5 separate regions of the Homo sapiens genome follow, and all the other regions are linked to region 1. The links are contacts of gene promoters, found by promoter capture Hi-C in blood cells and fetal thymus (Javierre and others, 2016). All regions are on one chromosome and are shown on one strand. The core of a region is centred on a gene start or on the middle of the fragment in contact, and the rest is flanking DNA. Distances in the headings are between cores, read along the strand shown.

Evidence for each region. The method cuts DNA at HindIII sites, captures the fragments that hold promoters and counts their contacts. A CHiCAGO score of 5 or more calls a contact.
Region 2: a contact is called between the fragment with the promoter of BLTP2 here and the fragment with the promoter of TP53I13 in region 1, in 2 of 17 cell types (naive CD8 T cells and non-activated CD4 T cells). The highest score is 12.4, in naive CD8 T cells.
Region 3: the fragment with the promoter of PROCA1 here is called in contact with the fragment with the promoter of TP53I13 in region 1 in 1 of 17 cell types (total CD4 T cells); the score reaches 6.1 in total CD4 T cells.
Region 4: the fragment with the promoter of CPD here is called in contact with the fragment with the promoter of TP53I13 in region 1 in 5 of 17 cell types (erythroblasts, non-activated CD4 T cells, M0 macrophages and 2 more); the score reaches 8.7 in erythroblasts.
Region 5: the fragment with the promoter of TMIGD1 here is called in contact with the fragment with the promoter of TP53I13 in region 1 in 9 of 17 cell types (naive CD8 T cells, neutrophils, naive CD4 T cells and 6 more); the score reaches 9.6 in naive CD8 T cells.

Annotation. Positions count from the first base shown.
Region 1 is chr17:29,566,316-29,571,546 of GRCh38, reverse strand. TP53I13 (tumor protein p53 inducible protein 13) reads right to left here and starts at 2,846. Exons shown (of 7, transcript NM_138349.4): 1 at 2,717-2,846; 2 at 2,461-2,529; 3 at 2,188-2,229. The coding sequence starts at 2,788. It overlaps ABHD15 (abhydrolase domain containing 15), which reads left to right and starts at 4,510. Exons shown (of 2, transcript NM_198147.3): 1 at 4,510-5,231. The coding sequence starts at 4,581. RefSeq lists enhancers at 1,806-2,306, 3,390-3,439 and silencers at 2,610-2,969, 3,970-4,229, 4,320-4,939. The HindIII fragment of the contact is 2,834 bases long and covers 852-3,685 here.
Region 2 is chr17:28,642,499-28,647,729 of GRCh38, reverse strand. It overlaps BLTP2 (bridge-like lipid transfer protein family member 2), which reads left to right and starts at 2,572. Exons shown (of 39, transcript NM_014680.5): 1 at 2,572-2,741; 2 at 3,543-3,672; 3 at 4,071-4,120; 4 at 4,419-4,566; 5 at 4,743-4,861. The coding sequence starts at 2,674. RefSeq lists silencers at 2,186-2,415, 2,436-2,775. The HindIII fragment of the contact is 8,883 bases long and covers 1-5,231 here.
Region 3 is chr17:28,709,180-28,714,410 of GRCh38, reverse strand. It overlaps PROCA1 (protein interacting with cyclin A1), which reads left to right and starts at 2,523. Exons shown (of 5, transcript NM_001366301.1): 1 at 2,523-2,841. The coding sequence starts at 2,751. RAB34 (RAB34, member RAS oncogene family) reads left to right here. Exons shown (of 10, transcript NM_031934.6): 10 at 1-127. RefSeq lists enhancers at 1,669-1,748, 2,307-3,082, 3,083-3,858 and a silencer at 2,789-3,288. The HindIII fragment of the contact is 5,904 bases long and covers 1,903-5,231 here.
Region 4 is chr17:30,376,321-30,381,551 of GRCh38, reverse strand. CPD (carboxypeptidase D) reads right to left here and starts at 2,625. Exons shown (of 21, transcript NM_001304.5): 1 at 1,826-2,625. The coding sequence starts at 2,571. RefSeq lists silencers at 2,150-2,279, 2,580-2,819 and enhancers at 1,797-2,724, 2,870-3,039, 4,310-4,359, 4,610-4,899. The HindIII fragment of the contact is 3,432 bases long and covers 1,918-5,231 here.
Region 5 is chr17:30,331,196-30,336,426 of GRCh38, reverse strand. It overlaps TMIGD1 (transmembrane and immunoglobulin domain containing 1), which reads left to right and starts at 2,370. Exons shown (of 7, transcript NM_206832.3): 1 at 2,370-2,427; 2 at 4,269-4,375. The coding sequence starts at 4,294. The HindIII fragment of the contact is 5,890 bases long and covers 2,145-5,231 here.

The DNA.
Region 1 (5,231 bases), core at 1,597-4,096:
CCAGAGAATCTCAAGTTCTCCCATCCAGGGGACCAGTTTAAAGGTACTCCCAGGATAGCTGGATGGCTCTTCTACCTTCAGGGCCCAGGAAAGGACAAAGGGCCCTGGGTATTGGCATGTACCCACTCTTGCCTCTGAGTGTTCCTTTCACCCTTCCTCTCCATCAAGTGCCACCCTTCAAAGCTCACAGCATGCCTGGATAATCCTGCCAGACTCAGACCACACTCTAGCCATATTTCCCTGCAGGTGTAACGATGGCTCTACAGGTCCACAATCCAAGCCATAAGCAACCCCCAAATGAAGACCATCGATCCAATCTATACAGTCTCCCAAGAGCATCCAAATACAGGGCAGGCAGGCAGCAGGTGCACAATCTCAGGATGGAAATACTCCATCAATCATTCATTATTCTTTGATTGAGTTGACTTGGTGCTCAGTGCTGTGCTAGATGCTGTGGGAGATGCCAAAGAACTCCTGGACTCTGCTTGCAAGGAGTGTGTGAGAAACTCAGGGAAACAACTAATGCAAATAAAACAGCAAACTAATAAAACTTAGTGATTAGTTGTTAAATTATCAGAGATAGATTCAGAGGAGGAGGGGAGGAATAAAGGCTGATGCCATCGGGCAGTGTCTCAGGGGGAGCTGATGCCAGCTGGGACTGGGAAGATGGCTGGGGGAGTATGGCAGGAGGGCAGGGAGCTGCACTCTCCGAGTCAGGATAGGCCAGGTGTGGAGGAGAATAAACAGGAGCAAAGGGGCTGTGGTAAGGGCGAGGCTGGCACTCATTTGTGTGGCAAACAGCCCGACACAACTGGAGAGGAACCAAGGATGTGGAGAGGTCAGACGAAGCTTACTTAAGTAAGGCCTGAAAAGCCAGGCCGGAGAATATGGCCACGATAAGGTGGGAAATAAGGAGCCATTGACAGTTTGTGAACAGAGGAATGACTTCATGAAAGGGCTGTTTGAGGAAAGGAATCTGATAGGTGGCGTGAGGCAACAACTCTTGGCCTGGAGCTATTACAGAGAATTTTTTTTTTTTTTTGAGACAGTCTCGCTCTGTCGCCAGGCTGGAGTGCAGTGGCATGGTCTCGGCTCACTGCAACCTCTGCCTCCTGGGCTCAAGCAATTCTCCTGCCTCAGCCTCCCAAGTAGCTGGGATTACAGGGGTGTGCCACCACGCCCAGCTAATTTTTGTATTTTTAGTAGAGACAGGGTTTCACCATGTTGGCCAAGCTGGTCTTGAACTCCTGACCTCAGGTGTTCCACCCGCCTCAGCCTCCTAAAGTACTGGGATTACAGGTGTGAGCCACCATGCCTGGCCAATTTAAGTTAGGTATTTCAGGCCAGGCATGGTGGCTCACACCTGTAATCCCAGCACTTGGGAGGCTGAGGCAGGCAGATCACTTGAGGTCAGGAGCTCAAGACCAGCGTGGGCAACATGGTGAAACCTCGTCTCTACTAAAAATACAAAATTAGCTAAGCTAGGTGGCACACGCCTGTAATCCCAGCTGCTCGGGAGGCTGTGGCATAAGAATTGCTTGAACCTGGAGGCAGAGGTTGCAGTGAGTGCCACTGCACTCCAGCCTGGGCAACAGAGTGAGATTCCATTTCAAATAATAATAATAATAAGTATTTCAAAGGAAAATTCAGAGGAGCTGGCGATGAAGATGGAGATGCTACCACGCAAGCTGAGCCCGCAGTGTGGAGCCTGGCAACTGGAGGCACACTCCTTGCACGATGCAGCTCTGTACTGTACACGGTGCTGGCACATACCCTCCCTCGCTGCTCACAGGTAGAGACAGAATTAATACCCTCTCCTACAGAAAGCTGGGGCCCACAAAGTCAGGAGACTTCCCGCTGTCTCCTCAGGGAGCTGGAGCCTGGGTTTTTTCCAGCTACTCTCAGAGAGAGTTCCACTCACAGCCACTTGTCCACAGAGCCAGCTACCCAACAGCATCCTGACACAGCATTGCAGATGACAGGCCTATGGCTCACTGTCTTTGAGCCATCTGTCCTGGGGCTGATCTGTCCTGGGCTTGGAGGTGGGGCAGAGAACTAGAACCCTGCCTCTGCCTGAGGGAAGTGGTAAGGAATGGGGCCGATCAGCAGAACAGGCAGCGAAGCCTGCTAGGAGCGCCTGTCTCCAGGCGTGGACACCAAGGGTGGTGGGCCCCTGCTTGTACTCACCTGCCCTGGGCTCACTCGTGTGTAGGTCACTCTTGGTGACACCTATACATGGGGAAAGAACAGAGCTTAGGGCAGTTGGGGGACTCCGTGTGTGTGTGGTGGGGAGGGGACGGCAGGCCCCAAGCGCCAGGCTGGGATGGAGAAGTTGGCTACTGAGGACTGAGGAACCGGCAGAGGTCCTCAGATGGTGACTGTGGAGGGTGCGGCGAGAACAGAGCGGGACTGGGCTAGCCTTTCACATCCCTCTCTCCCTGGGCCCTCCAGGGCTCCTACCTGCGGAGGCAGAGGCCACAGGCTCTCGGGACAATGGGCTCCCGCCTCCTCCGCCGGTCCAGCCATCACCTGTGGGTCCAAAGCGAAGAGTTGGGGCGCTGGACGCGGCGAGGCCCTGCCCTCTCTCTCCCCAGGCCCAGCCCGCCAGCGGAAGAACTCCGCGTCCCCCTCGGCGCGCCACTCCTTCCAGGACGAACTTTTGGCAAAGCGCTTTGAGCTCGCGGGCCGAGGCCTTCCCAGGAGCGGGTCACCTTACCTCGCTGGGACCCAGGAGCCTCGCGAGGGCTGCCAGGAGAAGCAGTTGGGGCGAAGGCGGAGGAGGCGCCATTCCAAGCGGCCCCGGGCCCGGCCCGCCGCCCAGCCGCTCCGCCAGCGAGGGAGCGCGCGCGCCCCGCCCCTCCAGCCCCAGCGCCCCCGCGCCGCCCGCGCCGCCCGCGCGTCCGTTGGCCCTGGGCTCGCGCGCGCCCCTCCCCAGACAGTGGGCCCCCGGTATCGCCCCGCCCCAATGCCCGCCCACAGCAGCGGAGTGTGCGCGCACGCGTCTTAAACCCGAAGCCGGAAAAGTTAAGTGTAGGAACCGGGTCAGCGCGCAAGGCTCAGTAGGGCAGGCGGGGGGCCCCTTTCCTCGTCCGGGGATTCGTCTCAGCAGGTCCCTGCAGTCTGTAGAGCAGCTGCACAGCTGCAGCGCCTGGATGAGATCGTGGAGCGGAGTGTAAGGCCGGAAATGGAATCCCTGTGGACCGGGTGGCCCAGGCTGGGGAGACGGGTACACTCCCCTGGCAAACCCGCTTCAGATTTGTCGGTGTGACCTGCAATGAGAAGAGGGGCAGAATCATGAAGTCAGGAAGAGCTGCTGAAGGGAGAGGGTCCCACCTCTGGAGCTTCGCCGTCGGCCCACCCCGCTCCCGCCCTCGCAAATAGGGTCCAACGCGGAGGAGCCTCGGGAGGTGTCTCCGCTCCCCAAACTCTCCAAACCCAGAAGCCCCGGGAGGCCGGAGCTAGCCGAGAGGCTGCTGTCTTCCCCACCTCCGCCGTCGCCCAGCGGTGGCAGGCGCGCGTCTAGAAAGAGATTGGTCGCCGCGAGATGGGGACGCCACAGGCCTCACCCCCAGGAGGTGCGCTGGCCGGCCCGCCCCGCAGCGGGGCGCTGGTTCTGGTTCCCTCTCCAGGATTTGGGGGGGAAACGTGGGTAGAGAGCGAGGGTCGAGATGCCTATCCCAAAGCTTGGAAACAGCGAGAACGTGTTATTTCCGTGGTCTCCCATGCACCCCGGTTTACGAGGCGTTCCTTGTAGGTCGGACGGGCATCCCTGTCGCAGGGCGCCTGAGTGTGTCCTTTTCTCCGACTGACTCTCGGAGGCTTGGGGCTGCTGTTTCTGGGGAAGCCACTCCCGGGCTGAGGATTTCCTTGATGTGGAGCCCCGAGCTCGCGGGGACGGGGGCGAGGAGTCCACGGGACCCGCACTGATGCAGGCGGGGAAGCAGCAGCCTCCCGCCAGCGGCTCAAGACGCCGCGCTCGACCTCTCTAGCCCAGTGCCGGACCCCGCCCAGCCAAGTTATTGCGGGGTTGCGGGGCCGGGCGGGGGAGAGCAGGGCCGCCCGAGGGCAGAGCGCGCGCGCGGCCGCCGCCCCACGGGGTCCCGGGAGCCGGCGCCCGGAGCTGCGACTTACTCACCTCTCCCTTCTGCTTCTTTTCATCGGCCTCTGAGGGCGCAGCGCCCAGGGTCTGGCGGAAGACCCTGATGACAGTCGGGTCCCCAAGCCTCGGCCTCCAGTCTCCCCACGTCTCCATGGCCAACACCGCTCTCCCCGGCTCGTGCCCTCCCCACTCCCTTCCGGCTGCCGGCGCGCCCTCCCTCCCTGGTGGCCCCGGCTCCTCTCACCCTCTGCTCCCACTTGTTGCAATTGCTGTACAAAGGGCCGGGGCGGGGGTGGGGGGCGGGCGAGGGCAGCCGGGCCCGAACTGGCTGCCTCTGCCCGGCCACGGCCAATCCAGAGCGCGCCCGCGCGGGAGGGCCCTGGGCAGCCGCCGCCGGCGGGCGGAGCCGCGGGCAAAGCGCGGAGCTCGCCGAGTAGACGGCCCCGCCGCCCGCTGCCCGCCGGGGCTCTCCAGCTTCGCCATGCCGCCGTGGGGCGCCGCCCTCGCGCTCATCTTGGCCGTGCTCGCCCTTCTCGGCCTGCTCGGCCCGCGGCTCCGGGGACCCTGGGGGCGCGCCGTCGGAGAGAGGACCCTGCCGGGGGCCCAAGACCGAGACGACGGGGAGGAGGCGGACGGCGGAGGCCCGGCGGACCAGTTCAGCGACGGGCGCGAGCCACTGCCGGGAGGGTGCAGCCTTGTTTGCAAGCCGTCGGCCCTGGCCCAGTGCCTGCTGCGCGCCCTGCGGCGCTCAGAGGCGCTGGAGGCCGGCCCGCGCTCCTGGTTCTCCGGGCCCCACCTGCAGACCCTCTGCCACTTCGTCCTGCCCGTAGCGCCTGGGCCTGAGCTGGCCCGGGAGTACCTGCAGTTGGCGGACGATGGGCTAGTGGCCCTGGACTGGGTGGTAGGACCTTGTGTTCGGGGCCGCCGGATCACCAGCGCCGGGGGCCTTCCTGCGGTGCTTCTGGTGATCCCCAATGCGTGGGGTCGCCTCACCCGCAACGTGCTCGGCCTTTGCTTGCTCGCCCTGGAGCGCGGCTACTACCCGGTCATCTTCCATCGCCGCGGCCACCACGGTTGCCCACTGGTCAGCCCCCGGCTGCAGCCTTTCGGGGACCCGTCCGACCTCAAGGAG
Region 2 (5,231 bases), core at 1,323-3,822, 920 kb after region 1:
TGATTTATCGTAGAGATGAGGTCTCACTATGTTACCCAGGCTGGTCTGGAACTCCTGGGCTCAAGTGATCCTTATGCTGTGTCTTCCCAAAGTGCTGGGGATTACAGGAGTGAGCCACCATGCCTGGCCTACTGCCTGAATTCTTTTTTTTTTTTTTTTAAGATGGAGTCTCACTCTGTCGCCCAGACTGGAGTGCAGTGGTGCAATCTCGGCTCACTGCAACCTCCGCCTCCCAGGTTCAAGTGATTCCCCTGCCTCAGCCTCCTGAGTAGCTGGGACTACAGGCACCCGCCACCACACCTGACTAATTTTTGTATTTTTAGTAGAGATGGGGTTTCACCATATTGGCCAGGCTGGTCTTGAACTCCTGACCTTTTGTGATCCGCCCACCTTGGCCTCCCAAAGTGCTGGGAAAACAGGTGTGAGCCACCGTGCCCGGCCTGAATTCTTAAAACTAATAAATCATTTTGGAATAGGAATCCAGCTGTTTCTGACTCAGGTTTTTTTAAGTGCACTACGATTGTGTTTAGCTTTTGGAAAACAAATCCTGTTTTTTGGACAAACGTAGATATATCTCTCTAAAAAGGTGGATAGAAAACTACTTTTGTCCTCTGCCTACCTGATTTCCTCCTTTCCTGTGTCAATTGCAGAAAATTTGCTCCTGTAGCTTCCAATCATGGTATTGGTGAACGGAGATGGCTGCCATCTGCTGGAATTTCAGTGACTAGCAGGCTTTTTTTATTTTTAGAAACTTCCGGGTTTTGTTCTTTTTTTTTCTATTTGTTTTGTTAATGTTGAACATTTAGAGACACCATTTCTGTGCCAAACATGGCCCGTGACGTTAAAAGACTTGGTCTCTTTTACAAGGGCTTGTGGTCTCAATAAATGGAGGCCATGAATTAGTTGAGCCCCACTGTTGCCTCAACCACCCCCCACCCCCGACTCCCTGCCTTTATTCCACTTCACTTGTGTTGATCCCTTAAGATCTCTCCAGAAAGAAATAGACAAATCATAAAATCAACATTTTAGGCTATGAGATGGCTGGGAGTAGGGCCGGTAATAGTCAAGGGAGAAGGAAGGAAGTGACAGGAATCTTGGTTCAATAAACAGATTGGATAAGATGAACCAGAGTAGGGATACGTGTTGCACGGCACCCCTCCTTGACTTGGACAGAGGTTTTCAGTGAATTGGGCCTTCCCAGAGCATTCGGAGGACATACCCTGGGGGAAGGCTGCAGATGACGAGGAAGATGACGCAAATACAGTGCTTGAGAGGTAAGTATGACCTTGAAACAGCAGCGCTGGAGCTCTTGGGGAGATGTGAAATCACTGAAGAGAGGAATAGATAAGGGAGGAAACAATCAGAGGAGTGAAAGCAACTTCGGGCAACACACAGGTGAAAGATGAAATGGTGTTTTATCTGAGGGAGCCAAAAAGAGAGGCTCTGAGTAAAATCTTGAAGGATATATATGGAGATTAGGACGTGGGAGCGAAGGGGTATGAAAAGAGACATGACCTCCTCCATAATACTTATTTTGAAACCGTCAGGATTTCCTTAGCTTGTGCTGTATCAGTAGATCATCATTCAGATACTGATCCTTAGCACAGTAACGCTGAGGGACCTTTGTCCTGTTCTCTCATTTTACAGAGAAGGAAGCAGGCAAAACTATGTATTGTCTATTTTATGTAATTATGTTTGCTTCCCAGATAAACTACACAGAAGGAAGCAGGCAAAACTGACTATGTATTGTCTACTTTATGTAATTATGTTTGCTTCCCAGATAAACTATTTTTTGCTAAAGGGCAAGAACAATATTCACTACTTCTGCAGTATCTCCTCCTCTCCTCCATCAGGGCCCAGTTCGTGCCATAAGTAGATGGACCAGAACAGTGTTCAAACAGTAAATGAAGTAAAAACTCATTGGCCAGGAACCGTGACACGCGTCTTTAGTCCAAGCTACTCAGGAGGCTGAGGCAGGAGGATCCCTTGAGCCTGCAGGAGTTCGAGACCAGACTGGGCAACGTAGCGAGTCCTTGTCTCAAAGAAAAAAAAAACAAAACCTCATTAGTTTCCTCTGTGGATGGAATGAGGCGAGATTTTTGAGGCCTTTTAATTACCTCCTAGTTTCTGCCTCAGTAATTTTCAAACAGGATCTTGAATAAGATGGGAGTGCTACCACGTCTGACCAGGGGTGTAACTTCCGCAGAACCCTGAGTCCAGGCCTAAGTGGCTAGGCGGACTCCAACTCCCCTCAAAGTGAGCTCCCCGGACCGAAATGAGTCAGCCAGGTCCACCGCCAGCCCAGGTAGTGGGCCCGGACTCCGACCCCCGCGGGTCCCCGAGCCCCGCGGTTCCGGGCACCGTGGTGTGCGCCCGGGGCGTGTTTCAGCTCTTGGTCCGCTCCCCCTCGCCCTCCTCCCGGAACCACGCCCGCTCCTCGCGCACGCAGCCCGTCGGCCCTGCAGCGTCGTAGGACAGGGCGGGACTGGGGTGGGAGGCCGTTGGTTGGCTGGCGGGCTGCGGAAGGCGGGGCTCGTGTGCGCACCAGCGCGTCCTCGCTCAGCGTTGCTCCTGCGCGCGCAGCTGGTCGGCCCGCGGCGGTGCTGCGCGGATCCGGCGTCGGGGCCCGGCATGGCGGGGGCCGGGGCCAAGCCGGGCCGGACCCGGACCTAAATGCCTCTGTTCTTCTCCGCGCTGTTGGTCTTGCTGCTAGTTGCGCTTAGCGCCCTCTTTCTAGGCCGGTGAGGGTTCCCGGCCGCGCCGGCGGCGGCGGCGGCGGCGGGAGGGAGGGGGCGGAGAGGAGGAAGAAAGACTGAGGAGGGGGCGCGCGCCTTACTGAGGCGCGTGAGGCAGAGTGGGTAGGGTGGAGGGAGGGGGCGCGCGGCGAGGGGAGGGATCGTGAGGAGGCGCGTGGCCCGAGCTCCCAGGGATGGGCTGCGAGTTGGGGAGACTGAGGAAGCGGGCGGGGTCTGAGGAAATGCTGAGGCCAGGAACTGAATAGGAGTGTGAGGAAGGGGCCTGGTTCAGTGGCTTCCCTTTCCCCCTCCACCCACCCCTGCATGTCCCTTTCGCCAAGCGCGATGGGCACCTGCAGCATCGGTCTGGGGAGAACAGCATTCGAGCTGCCGGGTCTGACCTCAAAGTGCCTTCTCGTGGATACCTGTCTGGAGGGTGGGAGCAGGAGACAGACAGACCCTCTGGGGAGTGTGATGGCACATGTGACAGAGCCGCCTCCGCTTTGACTCTTGCTGGGGTCTTCTCTCTCTGCCTCTGGGATTCATAACAATTTGAGGGATTTTGTTTTTGTCTTCAACTTAGAGGGTGCAGTTTCTGGTTTCATCTGGGTGGAGGGGTCAGTCGGGAGCTAGGATCTTGATCAGCGTGGCTGAATGTATATGACAGAGTGGTGCTTTGGAAGAAAGGAGAGTTGCTCAGATCCAGTTTCAGGAACGACCTTTTGCAAGGCTTTGAAAGACCAGCAAGGGGTGAGGGAAACCATCATTGGAAAAAGGTCCTATGAATTAACAGGAATTTTTCTGCAGGTGGCTTGTGGTCCGGTTGGCCACCAAGTGGTGTCAGCGGAAGCTGCAGGCGGAGCTAAAGATTGGCTCCTTCCGCTTTTTTTGGATCCAGAATGTCAGTCTTAAGTTTCAGCAACACCAGCAAACAGTGGTGAGTTCTGGGAAACTCTGGATATGTGTGTAGGGTTGATCCAATTGAATTTAAACTCTTAATTTCCTTTTTTTAAAAATAGAAATCCTGGTGGCTTTTCTAGTTAATCCCAGCCTTGCCATTTCTTTGCCAAGATGATCTTAGAGCTAGTTGGAGAACGCTGCAAGTTGTTCAGTTAAAAATGTTTGTAGGACACAGAGTGTCCAGGGCACATAACAAAGATACAGAAGAAAGATAACAGGAAATCGAAGATTTTACTGTTCTAATTTAAGATGGGATTCAAGGCAACATGGCTATGAAAGAGAAATTCTAATAATCCAGAACATTTCCTGGCTTGTCAAGCTGCTCGTGGCTTATTTAGCAGCTAGCACACAGAGCTTTCTCCCTCACTGTTTTAGGAAATTGATAACCTGTGGATTTCCAGCAAACTCCTTAGCCATGATCTTCCGTGAGTACCCTATATTCTCACTTCTCCCCTAGAAGAGTACTTTGGAGTTGGTGTTTGCAGAGTGACACTCTTCTGCAGAGGCATCACAATCCAAGGAGGAAGGGAGGTTGTTGCTGAAGTCTTCCTGTTAGCCTGGGTGCCATTGTGTTGTGAGGAAGATATTGATAACTGCTATGAAACTAATCTCTGTGATTTGAGCTATATTTCTAGGAAGGATGAGAAAGTGAATGTGAGGGTGGGGAATAGACTGCTATGGGAGGGATGGACCTGGTGGCAGTGAGATTTCTCTTCTGGGCAGACACTATGTGGCATTGTGCTTTGGAGAAGTGCGTATCAGAACGGACCTACAGAAAGTTTCTGACCTGTCTGCCCCATTCTCCCAGAGCGCTGGGGTGGATCAAAAGGAACTGTCCTTCAGCCCATCCTTATTGAAGATCTTCTGCCAAGTGAGACAACTTCTCCTGCTATCCTGGACTGTACTTTGGCATGGTTGGCTTTGGAGTTATGGGTAGATTTTTCTGTTTTTAGGGCATAATGCTAAGAGCTGCCCCTCTTTCTCATCTGGAAAGGAAGGGCAGTTCCTTAACATTAATTATTGTTCATCCTTGCTTCTTCCTTCCAGCTATTCTCCATTCATGTAGATGCTATAAACATCATGGTTCTCAAGGTGGATACCTCTGAGTCCTTATGGCATATTCAGATCAGTAGAAGCAGATTTCTTTTGGATAGTGATGGGAAAAGGTAAGCACTGGGGAGCAGAGGATCTAGCCGTCCTATTCTTGCCTCAGAGTTGCTTCAGGGCCTCCTTATCAAGGTGTTAAGTTCTCATTCTGTGCAGTTGGAGGAGATGCTAAGATTAGACATTTCCAATTGCCTTGTCCCTTCTAGCCACCAGAGCTTGACTGGAGGTAAGTGGTGAGGAAAGGGACCAAGTTCTCTTTTTTTTAAATTTTTTTTTTGAGACAGAGTCTTGCTCTGTTGCCTAGGCTGGAGTGCAGTGGTGCGGTCTTGGCTCACTGCAAGCTCCGCCTCCTGGGTTCAGACCATTCTCCTGCCTCAGCCTCCCGAGTAGCTGGGACTACAGGCGGCCGCCACCGCGCCTGGCTAATTT
Region 3 (5,231 bases), core at 1,274-3,773, 860 kb after region 1:
CCAGTGGTAGTGAGGGAGAGTGTCTCTGTTCTTTTGCTCAGCCTGCTGGGCCCTTTGTGTTTGAGGATGCTTAATGATTCCAGCCTCTCACTGTGCCTTATGCATTAAAATTTCTTTGTTACGAGCACTTTGGGGCTGGAGTTCTTTGTTGGGGATGATGGATGTGGAATGGGCATGACTGTGTGGCCATTTTGGCACTAGAGTCCCCTGGGGATGCTGTGCTGGCCATCCCTGGCCCCTGGGCAGGTTCAGGTAGGCTGGGAGCTGAAACATCAGTTTGGGGGCTGCACTGGGCCCTCACTGGGTGAAGTCTGAATGGCTGGCTTTGAGAGCCCTTTCCCCTGATCCTTTCCCCACACGTGTCCTCCTACTTGGTGCTTATACCCAAATTTTCACCACTGGAGAATCTTTTTCTTTTTTTCACCCTTTTCTTGCCTTCCCTTTAAGAAGTACTTTTCCAGGCAGGGTGCGGTGGCTCGTGCCTGTAATCTCAGCACTTTGGGAGGCCAAGGCAGGCAGATCACTTGGATTCAGGAGTTCGAGACCAGCCTGGCCAACATGGTGAAACCCGCGTCACCATTAAAATCCAAAAATTAGGCCGGGCGCGGTGGCTCATGCCTGTAATCCCAGCACTTTGGGAGGCTGAGGCGGGCGGATCACGAGGTCAGGAGATAGAGACCATCCTGGCTAACATGGTGAAACTAAAAATGCAAAAAATTAGCCAGGCGTGGTGGCTGGTGCCTGTAGTCCCAGCTACTTGGGAGGCTGAGGCAGGAGAATGGCCTGAACCTGGCAGGCGGAGCTTGCAGTGAGCCGAGATGGCACCACTGCACTCCAGCCTGGGTGACAGAGCGAGACTCTGTCTCATAAAAAAAAATAAATAAAATAAAATACAAAAATTAGCCGGGCGTGGTGGTGCATGCCTGTAACTCCAGCTACTTGGGAGGATGAGGCAGGAGAATTGCTTGAACTCAGGAGTTATAACCATTAACTTTTCTTTCTTTTTTTTTTTTGTTTGTTTTTTTGGTTGTTTATGCCATTAACTTTTATAAGAAAGAAAGGTGACCAAGACCCTGGCTCCCTGTTGACATCTAACCCAGAGTTCCAGAGTAGCTGGAAGCACCTCAGACATCTGGGTCAACAAAGGAGGACTTATGGCCTCGTGTCATCCTGGGAGGCTAAGGGGGTGTCCAAGTTAGAAGGCAGATTCTGGCTCCCAGTTGCCAAGTGCTCTGTCTGTTCCATTCCTGGTTCCATTCTCACCAGGATGGTTGGTTTTTCTGCACACTTCCCTTCTCCTGGCTTCCCCTCCCTCGCAGTTCCTAGACTCTCTAGAGCTACCACGGGAAGGAGGGTCTGGGCAGCAGCCCTACCCACTCCGGACTTGGGTCTGGAGGAAAGTGAAGGTGGGGATCAGGCAGAGCAATAGTAGCAGCAGCAGAGCCCCTGGATGATGGTGGAGAAAACAAGGTGTGGACCCCATCCTTTCTCCTCCTCTTCATCCTGGCTTTGGAAGCTGGTGCCAAGAGAAATGGAGGGGTGTGGTGCATGGAATGTCGTCGATATGGCCATAACTTCTTTTCACACTCTCCTGTGATTGTTTTTTCCATTTCTGTTCCCTCGCAGCACTGGGCTCCTCACCCTTGCCTTGCCTGTTAACAGATGTGTGTGAAGCCAGCACCACAGTCCAGGTGTGGTGTTTGTGCTGCACCGGGTGTGGGAGTTCTGTGTTCCGTGTGCATGTTGTATTAGTCTGTGTGTGGTGAGTATATTCTGTGTGTGTGTGATATATGCATGCGCAGAGTGTGTATGTTGTACCTGAGGGCGTGAGGGGTGTCACTGGGATGAGGTTCCTATGAATGCAGCCTGCCCTGTTCTCCAGATTGTCTATCAGGATAAGCTTACGACTCTCTATTGGGCAGTATTGTCTCTAGAATAGGGTGTCCCCTGGGGGCCAGGGGCGGGAACGCTGCGGGGTGGCGCAGGGGCTGGGAGCCGACATCAGGTCCTCAGCCCGGAGTTAGGTCTTCGGAGAGGCCTGTGGGCGGAGAAAGGGGAAGCCCGGGCTCCACCAGAGGCGGAGGGACCTCGAAGCCCGGAAGGTGGAGGGGAAATGGCGACGCCAGGACCTCCCTGGGCTCAGGGGATCCTCCCATCTCAGCCTCCCGAGTAGCTGGGACTACAAGTGCGCACCACTAAACTAGCTAATTTTTGTATTTTTTGTAGAGATGGGGTTCGCTCTCTCGCCAGCGGGCAGAGGCGGGGCTGCGGCTGGGTTCCCAAGGGTCGGTGGGGCGGGGAGCGGGACGGGAGTGTGCGGTTTAGAGAATGGCCGGGGCGGGGCTAAGAATGGGGCTGGGGGCAAGGCTCGTTGTAACACTAAGAATTGGGGCTACGATCTGGAGGCAGGGTGAAAATCTGGGGTTTGGACTGCAAGCTGGAACCAGAGATGGGTGGTGAGAGCTGGGCCTGTAAGGTTAAGGTCTGAGATAAAGAGGGGCCTGGGAGGCGCCGGAGGCCCCGGATGAAGAACGCGGCTGACGCTGAGACCCAGCTGGGAAGACTACGCAGCCTGGAGCCGGGCTGGGGAGGCCGGCGGGGGCTGCGCCAGCATGAGGCGGGGTTAGGGGCTAGGCGGGGGCGAAGCCGAGACTGGAGTTCACGGCTGGGCCGAGGGCTCGGCCGGGCTGAGGCTCAGGGTTGGACTTCACGCAAGAGTCCTGTAGAGACGAAGACCTGGGCGGAGAGCGATGTGGGTCAGGACGACGCTCACAATTGAAAGATGGACTAAGGAAAAGACCGAGCCCAAGGCCCGCTCGTGGGATGAGAGCAGATGCCGCGGTAAGAGGGGCGGGGCAGGGGCTGGGCAGAGGGCGCGGCCCGGCTCGCAGACCCCGAGCGGCGCACGCGGGAAGCCGGCAAACCGACGAGGGAGACGGGCAAACCAACGAGAGAGGCGGGGCCCAGTGCTGGGCCGGGGCGGAGCTAGGGCCGGGGCGGAGCTAGGGCCGGGGGCGGGCTCGCGTCGAGCCGCGGGCCAATGATTGAGGACTGGGGTCCTGAGGCCCTGCTGGGTCGCCCGCGGGATGGGCGGGAAGTCTGGTTCCAGCCAGAGCTGGAACGCTCGGCTATCGGACTGGGTGGCACCGGGCGCAGGCCGCTGCCCTTGAAGCGCCGGCCTTGGCTGGAGCCCGTGGACCAGCGCCCACCCGGACGCCGGGGCGGGAGCGGGCGGTTCCATCGACCCTGAGGGTGGACCAAGGAGACTGAGGGTTCCACCCGTGGCATCACAATTACCTCCGCGGCGGCGAGGCCAGAGAGGCATTTCCAAGGAGACGCGGGCGCACTGCCCCTCCCTTGCTTCCTCCTCTTCCCTCCTTCCTCTCCTAGTTTCTTCCCTCCCTTCCCGCCCTACTCCTTCCCTCCCTTCCCACCCTACTCCTTTCGGCTGCTCTGGTGCCCACCCCCAGTGCCTCGAGGTCGAGGAGAGCTCCTCGGCCCCGCAGGACGGGGAGGATTCTGTACAGATGAGCATAACTTGTGAGTTTTGAGTTAGGCCTTTGTGCGCCGATTAACGCCTCACGGGGAAAGACGCCATAAGCCTCCCACTTTCTTTCACCCTATCACCCTCCTCATTCATTGTGTGTGTTGTCAGTCACTCCTGCTGCAGGAACTCTGGACTGCTGCTGGTCAGAGGTCTCCTCCTGTCCTCTGGAACTAAAGAGCAGATTGCTTTTCTCAGCTCTGAAGAGAGTTACTAAATTCGTCTCCCCCTTTGTCCTTCCTCCCCTCGTCTCCTTCACAAACAGAGCTGATGGGTGTCCGAGCTCTGGGGGAGCTAGTGAGTGGAGAGTAAACAGGCTCTGACCCTGCATGTGTGCTTTTTTTTTTTTTTTTTTTTTTTGAGATGGAATCTCGCTCTGTCGCCCAGGCTGGAGTGCAGTGGCGCAATATCGGCTCACTGCAAACTCCACCTCCCGGGTTCAAACAATTCTCCTGCCTCAGCCTCCTGAGTAGCTGGGATTACAGGCGCGCGCCACCACGCCCAGCTATTTTTTTTATTTTTTTTTATTTTTAGTAGAGACGGGGTTTCACCATGTTGGTCAGGCTGGTCTTGAACTCCTGACCTCGTGATCCGCCCACCTCGGCCTCCCAAAGTACTGGGATTACAGGCATGAGCCACCGCGCCTGGCCATGTGTGTCTCTTTCATGGTGGCTCCTGAAACAGCAAGGCAGAGGAGTTTTGGTTCCTCACCCTGGCTGAGGTCCCAGCGGCATGACTTTAGGGTCCAGGGTGGATAAGGGAGGCTGTGGAGTCCAGATTGAGTAAAACCAGAGGGTGAGGAATTGGTAGTGTTGGAGCTGAAAAGCAGGTGCAGTAGGAAGTGACTGTGCCTCAAAAAAACACCTGTCCTTCCCGCCGTCTCACTCTGCTGCCCACACTGGAGTGCAGTAGCACGATATCGGCTCACTGCAACCTACACTTCTGGGGTTCAAGCGATTCTCATGCCTTGGCCTCCAGAGCAGCTGGGACTACAGGTATGTGCCACCATGCCTGGCCGATTTTTGGATTTTTATTAGAGAAGGGATTTCACCATGTTGACCATGCTGGTCTCAAACTCCGGACCTCAAGTGATCCGCCCACCTCGGCCTCTCAAAATTCTGAGATTACAGGCATGAGCCACTGCACCCGGCCTGGTAGGACAGGTTTTGCATATGGAGCTGAACGTGATTTATTTTATAAGACAGAATCTCACTCTGTCGCCCAGGCTGGAGTGCTGTGGCTCTCTCAGCTCACTGCAACCTCTGCCTCGCCGGCTCACTCAAGCAGAATGTGGTTTTAAGGCTTGGCTATGGGCCGGGTGCGGTGGCTCACGCCTGTAATCCCAGCACTTTGGGAGGCTGAGGCGGGCGGATCACGAGGTCAGGAGATCAAGACCATCCTGGCTAACACGGTGAAACCCCGTCTCTACTAAAAATACATAAAATTAGCCGGGCATGGTGGTGGGCGTCTGTAGTCCCAGCTCCTCGGGAGGCTGAGGCAGGAGAATGGCGTGAACCCGGGAGGCGGAGCTTGCAGTGAGCCAAGATCCCGCCACTGCACTCCAGCCTGGGCGACACAGCCAGACTCTCTCAAAAGAAAAACAAAACAAAACAAAAAAAAAGGCTTGGCTGTGGAGCTTCACATACAGAATGACCTTTGTTTACAGGGGTGTGTCCCCAGCCAACAG
Region 4 (5,231 bases), core at 1,376-3,875, 810 kb before region 1:
TTTACCATATATGATCACCTACTTTCCCTTTTGATTAATGAGAGTTACATATTTGAAGAACAGATATGATTAGGGTAGTCCACAGCCACAGACCAAAATGACTCTGTATAGCCTCAAGGCGACTTGCACCAAGAAAAAGCTTATTTTCATATTTGGTCACAGCACAACTAATACTGAAAAGAAAAATCCAGGCACAGAATTTACATCCCTGCAAGGATCACAGCATTTTAAAGGTGCAAGGACAGAGCATTTTAAACATTTAAGCAATGCAAACGGTGCATTTGTTGTATCATCTCCAAAAAGCCCTGGCCATCACAGCTCTGTCAATAAGTGTATGTCAAAGTCATATTTCTTACGCAGATGTTCAGAGGTGATGACACGATCGTATTTAAAAGAAAAAAAAATCCTCCCAGAAAGTCTATGTGAAATTATATATCTACAAGAGAGCTTATCAAGAGGAGTAAAGTAAAAGATAGAAGACGAAAAGACTCAGGAACTGTCCTAACACTCAAGAATTTTCTAGATCTTCTATATATGACTGAAATCTTGTAGAAGAAATGATTCCAAGTCCCGCAGGGAAACTTCTTTATCTTAGCAGTCCCTCAGAAATCTTCTTTTAATCCAGATGGAATGATCAGTTATTGCTTCAAAAGCCTTATGAAGATACAAAAATGGGGAAAAGCTGATGCTAGAAAAGGGGAAGAGATGCCTGCTCACTTCAGACACTATGCCATCTGGAGTGAGTTCCCTCTTATTTTATTCCTCTCCTTTTTGCTGAAAATCCTGCCCATCTCTGGAGATAGCTCAAGCTCTACCTCTTCCACAGAGATGGTCCGTGTTATTGCAGCCCACACACATCTTGCCAGTGGGAACAATTCCTGTAAAGTTTAACTGGGTACACCAACATACCTCATAAATATTTATAACATTCTCTTGTTTTATACTAATTTCTTGAGGTCCTCCTTCTTCTACTTTGTAATTTTTTAAACCTCATGCAATGCTTAATAACACTTAAAGTGTGTATTAGAAGTGTGACCATTAGCCATTCTGCCCAGGCTAATAAGGTGCACAAATGACATCACAAACCCTTCAGAGTCTAAAATGAAGCGGCTCACAGATCTGTGCAAGTTCTCCAGCTAAGTCCATATCTTCTTAAGCTGAGTCAGAGGTAAAAATTGGAGAAAAATCAGCTTCTGTCAAATAGGCAAGGGGAAGATCCTGGGAATATCATCTGCCATTTTTGGGCTCCAGTGTCCCTCCGTGGCTAAGAGGACTATCGGGAATCAGATTGCCTAATTCTAAGTCCCAGCCACACTCCTATGTAAATCAGTTAACCAATCTGACCCTCAATTTCCCCGTATGCAAAACTGATGGTGTCTATGACATCAGGTTGTGGCCAAAATAAAGTGAGATACTGCAGTCACAGAAAAAATTAGCACAGCGCCTATAACATTAGGCACTTTTGATATAAGATAACAACATTGACAGCTTATCTATAAAATGTGTGAGCTGACCTAGGTTATCCTTAAGATCTCTTCTCGCTCATATTCTATGCCCCTGTAAGAATAGGGACCAGAAATGTCAGAAAGGAGTGTCCCCTCCAGCCATCCCTTGAACAAATGACAGCCTCTAGGAGGCAATTCTTTGATGATTAGCAGGACGGGAGGCTACGCGGCCTGGGCCCTGTCCCCGTTACAGGGTGTCTCCCTTCACCTTCACCACCGCCACCCCTTATGCCAGCATTGTCTGAGCGCCTACTGGGTGCCGGAACCAGCCTCGGCCCTTGGAGGCTCACACGGACGGGGAGGGGGCAGGCAACACTCACTTGTTCCTGCGGATCCACTCGATGAGGGCGCGCACCTCGGGCACCTCGTCCAGGGCGGGGGGTTCGCCGGTGCTAAACTGGTCGGGAAAGCTTCGGTTGAGGTCGCGGCCGCGACTATTGTCGCGGCCGCTGGCCCCGGACGGGCCGCCGTCGCCGAAGCCACAGTCGCCCTCGCGGGCACGCTCGAAGCCATCGGGGTTGAGGCTGGGCAGCAGGTACACGTCGGTGGTGTTGAGCAGGCGGACCAGGCGCGGGTCCCCGCGGCGGTAGCCGGCCGCCAGCTCGCGGGCCAAGTAGATCAACACCTGGCGCGACACGGTCTCGTCGCCATGCATGTTGCCCACCAGCTTCACCTGGGGCCGGCCGGGCAGCAGCGGCCCCGCAGCGTCGGGCCCGGCAGCGTCAGGCCCCGCGTCGCCCTCAGGGATTAGCGACCCCAGGCCGGCGGTGAGGCGAAGCACCCACAGCGGCCGGCCTTCCACCGAGCGGCCGATGCTAAAGAGGCGGGCCAGGCCGGGGAGGCCCGCGGCCGCCGCCTCCCTCAGCGCCGACTCCAACTCCTCTTCGTGGTAGTAGCGGTCGAACTGGCCCTCGGCCGCCTCGGCGCCCGCGCTCGTAGTTGTGGTAGTCGCCTCCGCCTTCTTGATGTGAGCCGCCCGGGCCGAGCTCCCCAGCAGCAGCAGGCACATGAGCAACAGGAGCCGCCCTAGCCGCCAAGGCGGCCGCTCGTCCCGGCCGCTCGCCATCTTCCAGCAGCGCCGCTAACCCCGGCTCCGCTCCCGCGGCTCAGCGCTCCGGGCGGCGGGGGCCCGCCGGATCCCCTCCTCGCCTAGCAACCCCATCCCGCCCTCTGGCCGCAGCCAATCGCGGACGGGCCTGGTGGAGCGTCACCACCAGGGGGCGGGGCTTCCCTTAAAGCAGCCGATTCCCTCTGGGCGGGCCTGCCCTCCTCCCGTCCGGGACGAGTTTGGTCACTCTCTTCCTTCGCCAAGGTTCTTCTTCTCTTCTCCTCCTCCTTGTTTCGTCTTCTGCGTGTGCTCCGCTTCTCGCTTAGTCTCTTCTTTATGGCTTCTCCCCTAAATTATCACCCATTTTTCTCTGAGAACTCCTGCTAGTTCTCTTCCCATCTTTGTTGCTGCCTTTCTCAGCTGCGCTTTAATGCTTAGAACCGAGAATGGAAAGAATCAAAAGGTTCGAAAGAATCATAAGACTAGAAAAAATCAATAGGTTCGAAAGAATCTTCGTTCGGACACTCAAAGCCTTAGCCCAGTCTCCTAGGCGCCTTGTCTCCGCATCCACCCCGCCTCCGCTGGAGCCCCGCTGTCCGCGTGCGGTTGCACGGGACGCCTCGTGGGGAGGAAGGCTCGCACCTCACTAGGCGGTGCATTCATTTTTAGAGTTGCTTTCTGGAAAGGTGTCTCTTTTATGCCTAGCGGAAATGTGCTACGTAGTAGGCTCCCTTTGTGTTAATGTTGTCTATTTCTTAGGCGTCACCCCACGTTGTTTTACTGCAAATAGGTCCCTGTGTGTGCTGGCCTCGACCCTCATTAGGCAGATTTCATTTCACAGCTCACCGGCCCACTTCTCCCACCTCATCGGAGCAAGTTGTATATTTAACTGTGCCCTGGAATGACATATTTTAAAACAGCAGGTTTGACATTTCTGGAAACACTTGCTTGGCATTCCTGAACTCCTCAGTGTCAGCCAAAGATGGCAATTACAGCGTTTCATCAAGTCTAGAGAAGAGGTCTTTTAAATCACCTTTTATAGGCTTTAGTTTCTTTAGCTTGAAGAAACCCAAAACTATCCCTTAATCGAATGCGAAATTCTACCCATCTAACAACATAATCGCAATAACCGGCATTACCTTCTTTCAGAGCCAGCTATTTCAGGGCCCCTTCCCTGAACTATGACTGAACCCTACTTTAATAGAGTTCATTCATTCGTCAAGTATTTATTGAGCAACTTTTATGTCAAAGCTAGATGCTGGGAAACAATTCATTCTTCTGCCCAGTCAAGAGATTCAGTGTAGTTTGTGATAAATGCTACAACAGAGGGGGTACAGGTGAGGGAAATATCTGAACTTGAGGAGGAGGAAAGGAGGAGAGAAACCATGGAGGATGGGAAGGATCCCAGGCAGGAGGAGAAGCAAGCAAAGAAAGCCGCAGGATTTGAGAACAAATGCCTTGTGTTCTGGGAATTGCATGCAGGGTCAGGATTACTGGTGTGAAGGGGCTCACAGGCCAGTCTTCAGGGAGCACATTTGATCTGGAAGGCCATGGAGAACCACAGACGGGTTTTAAGCTAGTTTAGAAAAATTCCTCTGACAGTAACACGGAAAATTGAATGGGAGGCCTAAGACTTGAGGCTGAGAGACCTGGAAGGAAGCTGCAATCCAGGAAGACATGATGAGACTCTGAATGAGGGCAGTGCCAGTGGAGGTGGAAAGAAGGAAATGGATCTGAAAGACCTTCGGAAAGGAAAGTGGACAGGATCTGGAGACAAAGAGGATTGTAGGCTGACTTCAAGTTACAGCCTAAGCAACTTGCAGGTATTCACTGAGGTACAGGCCAGGAGAAAGCACAGGTTTAGGTGAAGATGATTAATTTAGTATTCTGCCATCAGAGCGAGCACCGTCACTCCGGTCCTGTGAATGGCTCTTCTCCATGCCCCATTTGATCTAGTCTACATTATGCACAGCAGCTGCAACTCATCAGAAACAAAGCCACAACTCTGTACAGAGAGACCGCCCACCACCTCCCGGGAGTGCTCAACTATTACACCATGCACTTTTACAGTAATCCAAGTCAAAGAAGCCCCAGAGGACATGTTAACTTCTAATCAAATATTTCCTTTTCTACCACGTTCACTCTCCTTTGAAACCTCTTCCAGCCCCTTCACTCCTGCAGCCTCGCCTAGAGAGGCAGCCTGAAATGTAAATAAACAAGCATGAGGGTGGTGAAATAATATGGGAATGTAACTTGAGCCGGTGTCCTCTCAGAAATCCCCAGGCCTTCCGTGGGCCTCTTTCAGGTCTGCAGCCTTCTTCCTTAGCAGGTACACAGTTGCTTATGGTTATAAGTGAAACCCAAAGCTCTGGACCTCAGTCACTTTTGTGTTTACCTACAGGTTTGTGTTTACCTACAGCTGAATACCTCCAATTGTGTCTGAGAAGTCTTGAACCTTATGACAGGTGTTTCTTTCCTCTTTCCCCAAGGAAAAGGTGTGGCCTTACAAATGGAAGGGACTTGGGAAAGGCTTGAAGGTAAAAAGGCTTCCTGTTCACAGAAGCAGAGTGGCAATGACTTGGATTTTTTTTTTTAATTTTTGTATTTGATACATGATAATTGTACATATTTATGGGATACATTTGATATTTTGATACATGCATACAATATATTATGAT
Region 5 (5,231 bases), core at 1,121-3,620, 770 kb before region 1:
TCTGCTGAATACATTTCCCCAACATTCTGATGACAAAAATGTCATACAGAAAAGTTGAAACAATAGTACAATGAAGATCTATAGACCCCTATTTAGTTGAATAAATGTTAACATTTGCTATATTTGCTGTGTGTTTATGTGTTTACTTTTCTTGCTGAATCATTTGAAAGGTAGTTGCAATTATCATGACACTTGACCCATAAATATTTCAGCAGGCATCCCTTGAGAATTAGAACATTCTCTACATAACTGCAATACCATGATCACAACTAATAATAATTAATCATTATTTCCTAATATCACCTAATATCCAATTGTAGAAGTTGCTGGTGGTGCTCTACTCACACATCCTTGGCCTACCCAGAAGTTACCTGCAAAGAGTTCCCATATAGCCAGTGACTTCCTGAGCATCTTTTCCTGGACATGTTGGCCAGCTTGAGAGAGTACACTTTGCCCTCACAGGGCAGGCTGAAAGTGCCAGAGAGTCAACACCTTGAGAGTGTCCCTCAGCCGGAGATGGAGAGAAGTTGCTTCCTTCCCTATCAGTAGTTGATTCTGAGGTATGCTGCACAGAATACAACTTGTCCAAAGCTCCAGGGATATAGTTGCTCACGGTAGTAATCTTTAACACATTCTTTACTAGTTTCCTCCCTTCCCTATCTTACTTCCTTACTATGCTTCCTGAGATCACTTTTTTTTTTTTTTTTTTTTGAGGAAGGGTCTCACTCTCTCGCCCAGATTGGAATGCAGTGGTCCAATCTTGGCTCAACACAACCTCCACCTCCCAGCCTCAAGGGATTCTTCCACCTCAGCCTCCCAAGTAGCTGGGATTACAGGCGCCCGCCACCATGCCTGGCTAATTTTTCTATTTTTAGTAGAGACGGGGTTTCATCACATTGGCCAGGCTGGTCTCGAACTCCTGACCTCAAATGATCCACCCTCCTCGGCCTCCCAAAGTGCTGGGATTAAGGGAGTGAGCCACTCACCGTGCCCGGCCGAGATCACCTTTAAATAAACTATTGGCACTCAAAGCTCTGTCTCAGGGTCTATTTTGGAGGCACCAAGAACCAAAACATCACTCCATTGCTAAATTCATTTTAAAATGACAATCTTGGATCCCTGGAGAGGCAAACTCAAAACCTGTTTGGGTGGTGCTTGCAACCCAGCCAACAGGAGCTGCTCTTAGCTCTGATTTTTGCTTGAACAATGCTATAGTGAGGTTGTGTTGATTTAGGATGCCCTGCTCAGCCTATATTAATAATAATAGTAATAAGAGCTACTGTTTACCAAGAGCTTACTGTGCGGCAGATTCACATGCTTCATTTCATTTAATCCTCACAGTGACTCCGTAGGGAGGGTACTATTACTATTTCCATTGTATTGATGAAGATCCTGAGGCTCATGGAGGTTAAATAACTTTTCAAAGTTACATAGCTAGTAAGAGGCAGATTGCTGGTGTGCTTCAGCAGTGTGTTAAAATGTGTAGATAACTATAAATATTCTTCTGTTATATTTTTGTGTAAATGGGAACAATAGTACTTGGCAGATAAAATTTGCATCGTTAACAATACCATAAACATAGTGTAATGCAAGGATCTCCCAATCAGGTGAGAGCCTCAAGAGGATAAAACTGTTCCCTAGGCCAAGGTGGGCAGATTGCTTAAGGCCGGGAGTTAGAGACCAGCCTAGGAAACATGGCGAAATTTCATCTCTACCAAAAATATATATATTAACAAAGTTTAGCTGGGCATGGTGACTCACGCCAGTAGTCCTAGCTCCTTGGGAGGCTGGGAGCAGAGGTTCAGTCAGCCACAATTGTGCCATTGCATTCCAATCTGGGTGACAGAGTGAAACCCTGCCTCAAAAAACAAAACAAACAACAACAACAAAAAAACGGCTCCCTGCCATGCCTGGCTTGGTACAGCTTATGCACTGGGCTTGGGTTACTAGTGGTAACTAAGACTTTTCCAGCATTATTTAAGTTGTGTAGAATCTTCCAATGTTTTGACCTCTGTTAAAGTCAAACTTCTCTTTGGACTCGTCCCTTCACAATCCCCAGGCTAGATGATCAAAACGCAGCCATCTTACTTAAATATGACAATATTCAGTGAGATGCGCTACAGATTTTTGCACAAGTTCAAGCTTTCTTGGAACAACACATCCCTGTTAGTAATATCCGGCCCCACCTAGTAACCGAGGTAGACATAGAAACTTAGATCTTAAGAAGATGTCTTTCCCAATTACTATCTTCTCTAAGACTCCATAAAGAAAAACAGACTTTGAACCCAAGTTATCTTATTTATTTGACCCTGCTGTCATAAAGCGTTCAAATTCAAGTATTATAAAGGATTGTAACAGGGAAAGCATTTAGGGTTTTCAGGCAGAGGAACAGTTGGCCAAGGAAGTCAGCTTCTCAGAGCTCAAGAGGTAAGTGGTAAGACTGTCTTATATAGAAAGTAGAGAGTCATACAGATTAAAAACAAGCCAAGTGAGGGGAATACATTTTGAAAAGTTGCTGTCTCGGTGGAGTGGAGGGAAAGAGAAGACATAGATTTGTCCCCTTAATAGGGCTGGGTGAGGTCTGGCAAGAAGCCTGCACTCTCAGTTTTTATTGAGTACTTGTAGTGCAGAGCGCTTGAGAAAACTCTACTATTGACCACATTCTGCAGTAATCACTGTTACAACACTGTGATAGAAATCTTTTTGGCAAATATTTAAAATTACAAAAGAATCAATATTAGTAGTAATTGCATCTTACGAAAAGATTGATGCAGGCTTGTCTGCCAGAAAGGGTGAGCCTGGCATGAATGAAACTTACTCCTGTCAGGGCACGCCTGGGACAGGGGAGGAGTAGAGTAGGTATAGGTATATTTCAGCTCTTGTAAATTAATACTGGTGTTAAGGGGAGAGAACTCCCAGTGGCCAGGGACTGGAAAAGATTAACAGCAGCTTTTTTTTATTTTTTTATTTTTTATTTTTATTTTTTGAGACCGAGCCTCACTCTGTCGCCCAGGCTGGAGTGCAGTGGCATAATCTTGGCTCACTGCAACCTCCACCTCCCAGGTTCAAGCAATTCTCCTGCCTCAGCCTCCCGAGTAGCTGGGATTACAGGCGCTCGCCACCATGCCTGGCTAATTTTTTTTTTTTTTTTTTGCATTTTTAGTAGAGATGGGGTTTCACTATGTTGGTCAGGCTAGTCTCAAACTCCTGACCTCAGGTAATCCACCTGCCTCAGCTCCTAAAGTGCTGGGATTACAGGCATGAGCCACTGCACCCAGCCTAACAGCAGCTTCTTAAAGGAAAAGAATATTAATCTAGGCAGTAGATTGGGTAGTAGGGTGGTTGAGAGTAGGGTGGTTAAGAGCATGGTCTTGGGAGTCTGGGTTCAAATCCCGACCTTGACATTTACTGTCTGTGGGATCTCAGGCAAATTACATAGTCTCTTTAAATCTATAGAAACGACCTCAGGAGGGTTGTTAGGAGGCTTAATTGTGACTGAAATGATGTATGTAAAGTGTTTAGCACAGTCCCTGTTGCGCAGAAAGTTTTCCGTATGTGGTTCGCTATATTTATAGTAGTACTCTTGAAAGGAAGTAATGAATATATGTTTTTTTCCCAGATGGAAATGGAGAATATCTTAGGGAGAGGGAGAGTTGAAGCAAAAGCAAGAAGGGAGAAAGGACACCTTTATTATTTATTATTTTTAGTCCATTGGGTCAAGGGGAAGAGAGAGAGAGAATAGTGGGAGAAAGACAAGATTAACATGGTTTAAACTAGAGGCCATGTTTCAATTGAGGCTTTTCTACGTACACACCATTTGAATCTATGGGATTTGGAGTAGTCTCAAAAACTCTCTATTATCAGAGAACATCTTTACAAAAATGACCCAAGAAAAACTTTCAGAACAAGAATTACTTTGTTCAGTAGGGACTGTCTGAGAATGAGACAAGTTTCATTCTGCTAAAATGAAATTCTATCAGTTTCTCTAGGGAAGACTGGTTTCATCTTCCCCAGGGCACCCTGACGCTGCTCTATCTGTCATAGCCTATTTCCTGTGGTTTTATGTTGCTTTTAAAAAAAATTTCTTACTACTAAATGTACTTTGAACTTAGTCAGACAGGGTTGTTTAATTAAAAGCTAGAAGTAGTACCGTTATAGCTGGGATGATTCATCTGGGACTTCACTTTAAATGCATAATAGACAGAAGGAAGGTTCACGAACTCATTGCAGACCAAAGTACAAAACCAACTGCACTATTTTTCCCTTAGTAGATCTGAGTTTAACTCATTAAAGATGGCATGGAAGAGCAGTGTCATAATGCAAATGGGAAGATTTCTTCTCTTAGTAATTTTATTTCTGCCACGTGAGATGACAAGTAAGTTAAAGTTCTTTTTGGCCTCTTTTTAGATAAAGAAAAATTTCCGATTAAGAAAAGTGATCAATGGGCATTGGATATATCCTTAAATTCCAAATTGGAATGACTACACAGTTAGCATGGCTCACAGTACAGGAGTCAACTAACAATAAAAAATCAAATGGAGGCCAGGCGGGTGGCTCACGCCTGTAATCCCAACACTTTGGGAGGCCGAGGCAGGTGAATCATGAGGTCAGGAGATCGAGACCATCCTGGCTAACACGGTGAAACCCCATCTCTACTAAAAATACAAAAAATTAGCCTGGTGTGCTGGCAGGCGCCTGTAGTTCCAGCTACTCGGGTGGCTGAGGCAGGAGAATGGCGTGAACCCAGGAGGTGGAGCTTGCAGTGAGTGAGCCGAGATTACGTCACTGTACTCCAGCCTGGGCGACAGGGCGAGACTCCGTCTCAAAAAAAAAAAAAAAAAAATCAAATGGAAAAATATTGTTTTTAGGGTTTTATTATTACAAGACAAGGTGAAGTATTCTATTCTCTCCAGAGCCACCACCAGAATCCTCCTACATTTTAATGCATTTTATTACTAATGTTACCCCAAATAATCATCTGTTTATCTGAACATACCATTTCACATGAAAATCTTTCCAGCATTTGCTCTCCTACCACTCTTTTCTGATTTTAAAAGTAATGCATAGTCATTGTAAAATAAATCAGGCAATCTATAAAAAAAAAAAGAAAAGTACAAATCCCCCCAAATACTTTCATCCAGAGATGACAACCACTCAATATTCCATATTTTAATAAAATACTAGACAACAATACCATTATCTTTACAAGTAGCTTAAGTTTTTTGCTTTTT